Linked DNA regions of Homo sapiens: region 1 is linked to region 2. The links are contacts of gene promoters, found by promoter capture Hi-C in blood cells and fetal thymus (Javierre and others, 2016). All regions are on one chromosome and are shown on one strand. Each heading gives the region's core, a stretch centred on a gene start or on the middle of the fragment in contact. The rest is flanking DNA. Distances are from core to core; before and after follow the strand shown. Region 1 overlaps QDPR (quinoid dihydropteridine reductase). Region 2 holds the start of FAM200B (family with sequence similarity 200 member B).

Region 1 (3,655 bases), core at 1,077-3,576, 1.8 Mb after region 2:
TCCAGTTCACGGGGAATACCAAGGATAGAGGAACAAGTCAAACAACCCCTTAAAGAAAAGTTCAGACAAGTTCAGAATGTGAGACATGCTATATGAAAACTCCCAAGGACTTGACAAAAAGTCTTATCACAGGGGATTTTTTTAAAAATTCTAGATTTTCTAGATTAAGAGACTAAAAACAACATAATGCAGTACATAAACCTTGAGTGGAATATGTTTAGGGAAAAAGAACTATAATAGACATGGAATAAACTGGGGAAATTTGAATATGGGCTCAATATCATTAATCTTAGATAATCACTGTTAACTTTCTTAGGTACAATGGTACCATAATAATGTAGGACGGGCTTATTCTTTGGAGAAACACGCGGAAATATAGTGAGGTGTAAACTTATTTTCAAACAGTTAACAAAAAACAATGCACAAAGTACACAGGCACAAGAAAACAAGCTCAACTCAAGTACAGCAAATGTTAACAGTTACTGAATCTAGATGGAGCATATAAGGGTGTTCATTGAACTGTTCTTTCAACTTTTCTGGTATGCTTAGAAATGTTCATAATGAAAAGTTGAAAAATGGGCCAGGCGCACTGGCTCACGCCCGTAACCCCAGCACTTTGGGAGGCTGAAGGGGGTGGATCACCTGAGGTCAGGAGTTCAAGACCAGCCTGGGCAACATGGTGAAACCCCGTCTCTACTAAAAATACAAAAAATTAGCTGGGCTTGGTGGTGGGCACCTGTAATATCAGCTACTCGGGAGGCTGAGGCAGGAGAATCGCTTGAACCTGGGAGGCAGAGGTTGCAGTGAGCCGAGATTACACCATTGCACTCCAGCCTGGTGACAGAGCAAGACTCTGTCTTAAGAAAAAGGGTAGGGGAGTAGAGGGGAGGGGAGGGAAGGGAAGGGAAAAGAAAAGATGAAAAAAGGAATCAGCTTTAGTAAAATCTCAAGTTTGACTTCTTCTGACTTTCTAAATGATCTCTGCACTTCCTACACATCCTCCAATGCCTGAATAGCACATGGCCTGGGGCACAGGCCATGCTGATTTCATTCTGCCTCTACTTTAAACTCAAACTCAATGCCCCCCGTCCCCTCACGTCCTCCAGGGGAAGCTTCTTCTTTATCCGTAAAATGGATTAAGAGCATTAATCACTCTCTCCCCGAGCAACTGTAAAGATTCCGGGATATACACAAAAAAACAGCTGGCCTGTCACCTAGTGCAAACCCAATCCTTGTCAGCTGGAAAAAGAGCAGAGCAGAACAAATGAGTGACTCAGGAAAGGACTCACACTTGGATTTGGCATTGCCCCCGGCCCATCCTCCAGCAACGCAAAGAATTGCATCCACCTTCTCTTCACCCAAGAGCTTTCCAACCTCAGCAGTCACCTTCAACACAAGAACAAAAAAATGTATAAACTGTAAGGTAAGCCAACACAGGCTAGCATCTTTACGGATACTCAGTTTCTTTTTCTCTTCTTTTTAAGCCAGTTTACAGTACCTGGCAATTAATGCTTTGAGAATTAGACGGAAGACTAAGCTCTGATGAGCATTTTAGACATTGAAGCCCAAGTACACTTCAGTGTGATTTTTAAAAAACAATCTAGAGTCTCTGTGTATACATTCTGAAAGGTAGAGACATGAGCATCCCTTGAAATACAACAATTAATAAATAAAAGTAGGGAAAGGTTAAAAAAAAAAGAAAAAAGCACCTAGAGCTTCACTGCCTGCACATAGTTAACATCCTGGTGTATTTCTTTCCAGACTCTCTTCACAAATCACAGAATTATAATCCAAAAAGAAGATCAACCCTGTTTTCCCCACCCCAATCCAAAAATCCCTTTAACTGCAACTCTGAAAAAAATGCCAACGAAAAATTGTAAGAAAAATCATGAGCCAAGAAAAAATACAGTCAATAGCAATATGTTGGTAATATTAAGTACATGGGGGTTCACTTTAATGATCTCTCTGCTTCTGTTTGTTTGAGATTTTAAAGCATTGAAAATATATGTATGCCCTCTTGTTATAATTTATGAAAAGAACAGTCTGTCAGGACAGGCAATTCTGGCCATCCACCACGACTCTTCCGTATTTCTCTGGAATGGCTGAGATGACAAATCCCAATTGCTTCATTAAGATCAATCTTCTTAAGATTTCTTTTTTTTTTTTTTTTTTTTTTGAGATGGAGTTTCGCTTGTCTCCCAGGCTGGAGTGCGATGGCGCCATCTCGGCTCACTGCAACCTCCACCTCCCCGGTTCAAGCGAATCTCCTGCCTCAGCTTCCTGAGTAGCCGGGATTACAGGCGCCTGCCACCACACCTAGCTAATTTTTGTATTTTTAGTAGAGATGGGGTTTCGCCATGTTGGCCAGGCTTGTCTCGAACTCCTGACCTCAGGTGATTCGCCTGCCTCGGCCTCTCAGAGTGCTGGGACAACAGGACTGAGCTACCACGCCTGGCCCAATCTTCTTAAGATTTAAATCAGGCTGGGCACAGTGGCTCATGCCAGTAGTCCCAGCACTTTGGGAGGCAGAGGCAGAAGGATCACTTGAGCCCAGGAGTTCAAGACCAGCCCGGGCAACATAACAAGACCTCATCTCTACATTTAGTTTTTTTTAAAAAAGACTTAAATCAACACCCTGTGTCTCTCCCAGTAGGAACATTTCAGTTGATTACCTCTTTCCCCAGTTTCATGACAAAACTGAATGTTATGCTGTTTGTTCAGAAATTCTTAAGGTTGGGGGTATGGTGGAGAAGGTACTCCTCTTCCTTTGGTGGAGTAGTAGAAGAAGGAAGAGATTTTCAAAGAAAAGTTTATAAGCACAAACGCATCTCTCAATCTCTGTCTTAGAGATGCACTCTACTGCCAAGCCTTGGGTGGGGACAACCTCCACATTCAATCTACAGGGACATTAGAAACCTATAATTAATCAGAGCAGAAGAGACACTGAAGAGACACCAATTACAGAGACCCGCACCTGGCAGGGCTGCTGCTCTCCAAGCCCAGGAACCGCCCTTCCATTTAGTTTTGGCTTTTATTACTTTATTTTTTGTTTGTTTTTTAGAGAAGGTTGGGCTCTGTTGCCCAGATTGGAGTGCAGTGGCATGATCTCGGCTCATTGCAACCTCTGCCTTCCAGCCTCAAGCCACCCTCCCACCTCAGCCTCCCGAGTAGCTGGGACTACAGTTGTGTGCCACCACATTCAGCTAATTTTTGTATTTTTTTGTAGAGATGGGGTTTCGCCATGTTGCACAGGCTGGTCTTAAACTCCTGGGCTCAAGTGATCCTCCTGCCTCAGCCTCCTGAAGTGCTGGGACTACTGGCATGAGCCACTGCACCCAGCCATTTTGGCCTTTATTACTTTATTCACATGAAACTATTTTGCTTTAAGGCAGCTTAGCATAGCAGTTAAGAGAACAGCCGTCAGACCCCCACTGCCCATGTCCAAATAGTGGCTATGCAACCTTTTATCTGTTTGACCTTGGACAAATACCAGGGCCTTTCTGTGCCTCAGTTACCCCCATTTAAAAGGAGGATAAAATTAGAAGCTTTGTTTGGGGATGTAATGAAGACTACACGTGTTAATGAAAATAAAGCACTGAGAATGGTGCCTGGCAACTAACAATGATGCCATGTCAACTTTCACTATTAAATTCAC
Region 2 (4,187 bases), core at 187-2,686:
CTGGGTGCAGTGGCTCACCCCTGTAATCCCAGCACTTTGGGAGGCCCAAGTGGGTGGATCACCTGAGGTCAGGAGTTCGAGACCAGCCTGGCCAAAATGGTGAAACCCCGTCTTTGTATTTTTGAAAAATACAAAAATTAGCCTGGCATGGTGGCGGTCGCCTGTAATCCCAGCTACTCGGGAGGTTGTGGCAGGGGAATCGCTTGAACCAGGAGGCTGAGGTTGCAGTGAGCCGAGGCTGCGCCACTGCACTCCAGCCTGGGCGAGAGAGTGAGACTCCGTCTCAAAAATTAAAAAAAAAAATCCAGTTGGAGAATCAAAAATTTTTAAAAATTTGACTGTGTAATCCTACAAGAAGTAAGTAGCTTGAGAAAGAGAAATGCTGATAAAGTCGCATTAAGTTTCAGAGTTGAAATTCAAGCTCCTGTATCTAACATGTTTCCCTGTTTAAGGTAGAATTTAAAAAAAAACTATATATGACATATATATGTCAACCCAAAAAAATAAAGCAGTATATATTATATATATAAGAATATATATATATTCTCCTTTATATGTTTTTTGTTTCACATATATATATAAATATATATCTCAACCACAAAAAAATTTGGTTTGTGACAAAGATGCACTTATTTGCACGAACCTATCTTGTTAATGATCAAGAAATCTGCTTTGTTACAATCATTAGAGGACAGAAATATACATACATATTTAAATCTATTTAATGAAATGCAGTTTTATGTTAAAAATCAATGATCTGCTAACCTAAAGAGTCGCACAGGAATACTATGATTATTAAACACAATGCGATTCTCTAAATAAGTAAACACGTGCAATGATATCAAAGTTCAAAATTCTCTAATTCTTCCACAAAGACTATGAAAATCACCTTGGAGTGTATGAACCAGCGTCCTGGCCCCGCCAGGTCGGGGCTGGGGCGGGCGCGGGCCGGGAGCGCTTACCCCGCGGCAGGAGCGATTCAGCGCCACTACCTGCTTCGCCTGGTTGTGGTGTGGCTGCTGCGCCAACCGAAAGGCCTCCTTAATCCGCAGCAGTCTCTTTTCGCTCCCATGGCTCTGGGACTCTGTCCGGACTAGCCCTGTCCGCGCTCGGCTACATCCGGCCCGCCCACCAGCTCAGAGGCAGAGTTCTCCGCGGTGTCTCCTAGGGTTTCTTGTCAGAGGGCCCCAGGCGCCTAGGGAGTCGTTACCGCCCTGGCATTCAAATAACTCCCGCGAGAGGCGGAAATCCCGCGAGACTGCCGACAGAGCGTAGGGAAGTGGAAAAGTGGAGCCTGCACCGCCCGCTCCCGGCACCCCCGGACACCGCCCCGGTCTCACGCATGCGCAGAGGGCCGATCCAGTTCTTTTCGGCTGGAATGGGGAATTTGTGAGGTAGGCCGGAAGTGGTGTTGCGGAGGGAAGTGTGGGGAGAGCAGAGGCGCAGCTCTGCTGGAGAGACCTGAGGCTTGCAGCGCTGGGCCCGGCCGGGTCGCTGCGGCTGGGCTGGAGGTGAGGCGAAAGAAGGGCATCCTCTGATGGGAGTGGACCGGAGTCCGCTAAAGCGAAGCATTCCAGGGTTCGTTGCGGGAAATACAGTCTGGTTTTGCCCCCCGTATGAATTGAGGGAAGGTGAGAGCAGAAGCAATCCGGGCCTGAAGGGCGATTATTCTAGGGTCGGCCGAGGGGTTCAGGCCAAAGTTCATTGAAATCCTAGCTGGGTCCCTGGAGGACGAGAAAACCGGTCAGGAGTCTCCTGGGAAGAGGGTCATGTTTTAATCTAGCTAAAGCTGGTACCTGGCAGTTTCCACTCTTAAGGCCTAGTGTACTAACTAATGTGTGCGCAATGTCAAAACAGGAAACAAAGGGAAATGCAAGAGGTGGAAGGTAATTTTAAGTTAGTGGCAGTATGACAGATTTCCAGTGCCTTCAGGAAGGTATCCAGCCTTAAAGATGCTTTTTTTAAATAGACGATTTTAGACAGAAAAAAGGTAGAAACAAAACTATAACACATGTGTACTCACCACTGAATTGGAGAAATAAATGATTATATAAGTGATTGAAGTCCTTTGTCAGCTCTACCCCGTCTCATTCTCTTTCCTTTTGCCTAAGGAAACCACTCTCCTAACCACCTTTATGCAATCTGTAATGTGTACATCTTTTTGCAGCTAGCTTGTTTTACATAATGTTTTTGAGATTTGTCAGTGTTGTGTAACTCCACCTTATTCATCTTAATAGCTGAACAGATATTCTGTTATTTTAATATGTCACTGTTCATTGTTTAGTATCTCCAGTGCCTGACATACTTTAGGCACTGTAGGTAGCTAAATGTTAGTTGAATGCATGGCTGCTGTAGCATTTGAACTAAGTAGAAAAGAATAAATAGGACTTCATGTGACCCAACAAGAGTATTCCAGGCAAAAGGAATACTAGCCAAAAGCAGAGACATGAAAGTGCATGAACTATTTCAAGAATTTCCATACTTTTAGTACTGAAATGTAGAATGTATGGAGATCATGTGATGAAGGAGAAACCTGGAAAGATGAGGCTTAAGCTTAAAGGATATTATCCTGAAGAGCTTACACAAGCTCGGCGCCATTAAATGCTTTTCCAGTTATGAGGAAGCTGATTAGAGCTGTATTTTCAGAAGATGATACAGCGCACTAGAGATATATCTTAGGATATAAAAGATTAGTGACGGGGAATTTTAGACTATCAAGCATTGTAACAATAACAATCATTGCATTAAGCAAGTAAGACAACCAGCCAGACTAAAAATCCAAAAACATTTTCCTAGTCCATCATATTATCACATTCCTTAACAATTATTAATATTTCATATTTTCTTCTGACAAACTTGCAACATTTTCTACTTCGGCCTCTTACTTAGATGATACCTCACATCCTATTGAGTTAAAAAAAAACTTCCCCATGCTTTCATCACCACATCTACCAGACCTGTTCCCTAATATACTGCCACTGCTGTTACTATAGATGAACTGTCTGATTTAGGAGGGAGAGTAAACCCTTTAAAAATATCTTTTTAATACAATAGTAACTGAACTAGTGTTACAAACTTTCAAGGGGGGATTGAAACGTGAATAGTAAGAATATGAAAGAATGGAATAGTTAAAAGACAATTGCTTCTAAGAGATAAATGATCCATATATAGTAATATAAAAATAAGATACTTTTTTAATGTATATTTCTTTTTTTCAGGTAGATTTAGGTTCTAAGCTTTAAAAGCTAAATCTAAATTTACATGTATGTTTTTATAGGATCATTGTTTCTACTATTTCTTAACATAAGCAGTTTATTATGAAGTAGAATCTTTAACAATCCTGTTTTAAATAATATGTTTTATTAGCCTTCGTCTTACATATTTCCCAGTTGTCCAAATATAGTTGGATAACTTATTTGTTACTGACTGTGATAAAAATAGAGTGTACATTGTACAGTTTACTACAGGTGTCATTAATTTTCTCATTCTCTCATATGCATTGAGTAACTACCATACAGCAAGCACTATTCTAGGAACAGGTAGATAAGATTTATTAGTGGAAAATCACTTACCTAAAACCATATCATATAACCGTGTTAATGCACCTTGGTGTATGAGAAACTTTCAACTACAAATATTTGATTACCTTAATTGCAATTCTTAAGGGAGGCTAAGTAGATGGATAGCTGAATAAAGTTATTACTTGGAAATGTTGCCATGTAGCCGCAGGAGCCAATTTCAGTGCACACATCTTAAGCATCAGTGTACACATTTATAGGTCTTTGGTGTTTGGGCCAGCAGAACCCACCTGGGTTATGGAATCACACTGGTGTACTTGATCGTGTTCGGGTATGAACATGCTCTGATTTACATTGAGTACTAATTGAGCATGTCTATTTAAATTAAAGTTCCAGAATTTATGTTTAGGCCAGAACCTCAGGTTTGAACTTCTCCCCTAAAATTCCTCTGGCTTCTCATTAAAGCCGCTTTCGGAGATATAAGTAAAGAAAGTCAAACAAAAGACTTTGTAGCATGTTTTGTTTAACATGTTTTGTTTAGCACTGTTTTTCTTGAGCTATATATGATAAATATCTAGGGAGAGGTGGCAGAAGGACAAAATTGTAGTAGTTTGAGGTTTCTTGGGGGAAAGTTGAAGCATTAAAACATGTTAGCATCCTTATATGAAC

Evidence for each region. The method cuts DNA at HindIII sites, captures the fragments that hold promoters and counts their contacts. A CHiCAGO score of 5 or more calls a contact.
Region 1: a fragment that was not itself captured here is called in contact with the fragment with the promoter of FAM200B in region 2 in 1 of 17 cell types (activated CD4 T cells); the score reaches 5.8 in activated CD4 T cells.

The regions. Positions count from the first base shown.
Region 1 is chr4:17,503,090-17,506,744 of GRCh38, forward strand. QDPR (quinoid dihydropteridine reductase) reads right to left here. Exons shown (of 7, transcript NM_000320.3): 3 at 1,290-1,386. Among named protein-coding and RNA genes, the nearest start is that of QDPR, 7.2 kb to the right of the region's middle. The HindIII fragment of the contact is 2,433 bases long and covers 1,111-3,543 here.
Region 2 is chr4:15,680,391-15,684,577 of GRCh38, forward strand. FAM200B (family with sequence similarity 200 member B) reads left to right here and starts at 1,437. Exons shown (of 2, transcript NM_001145191.2): 1 at 1,437-1,511. It also overlaps a transcript of FBXL5 not described here. RefSeq lists enhancers at 937-1,236, 1,407-1,646, 1,657-1,706. The HindIII fragment of the contact is 4,207 bases long and covers 1-2,551 here.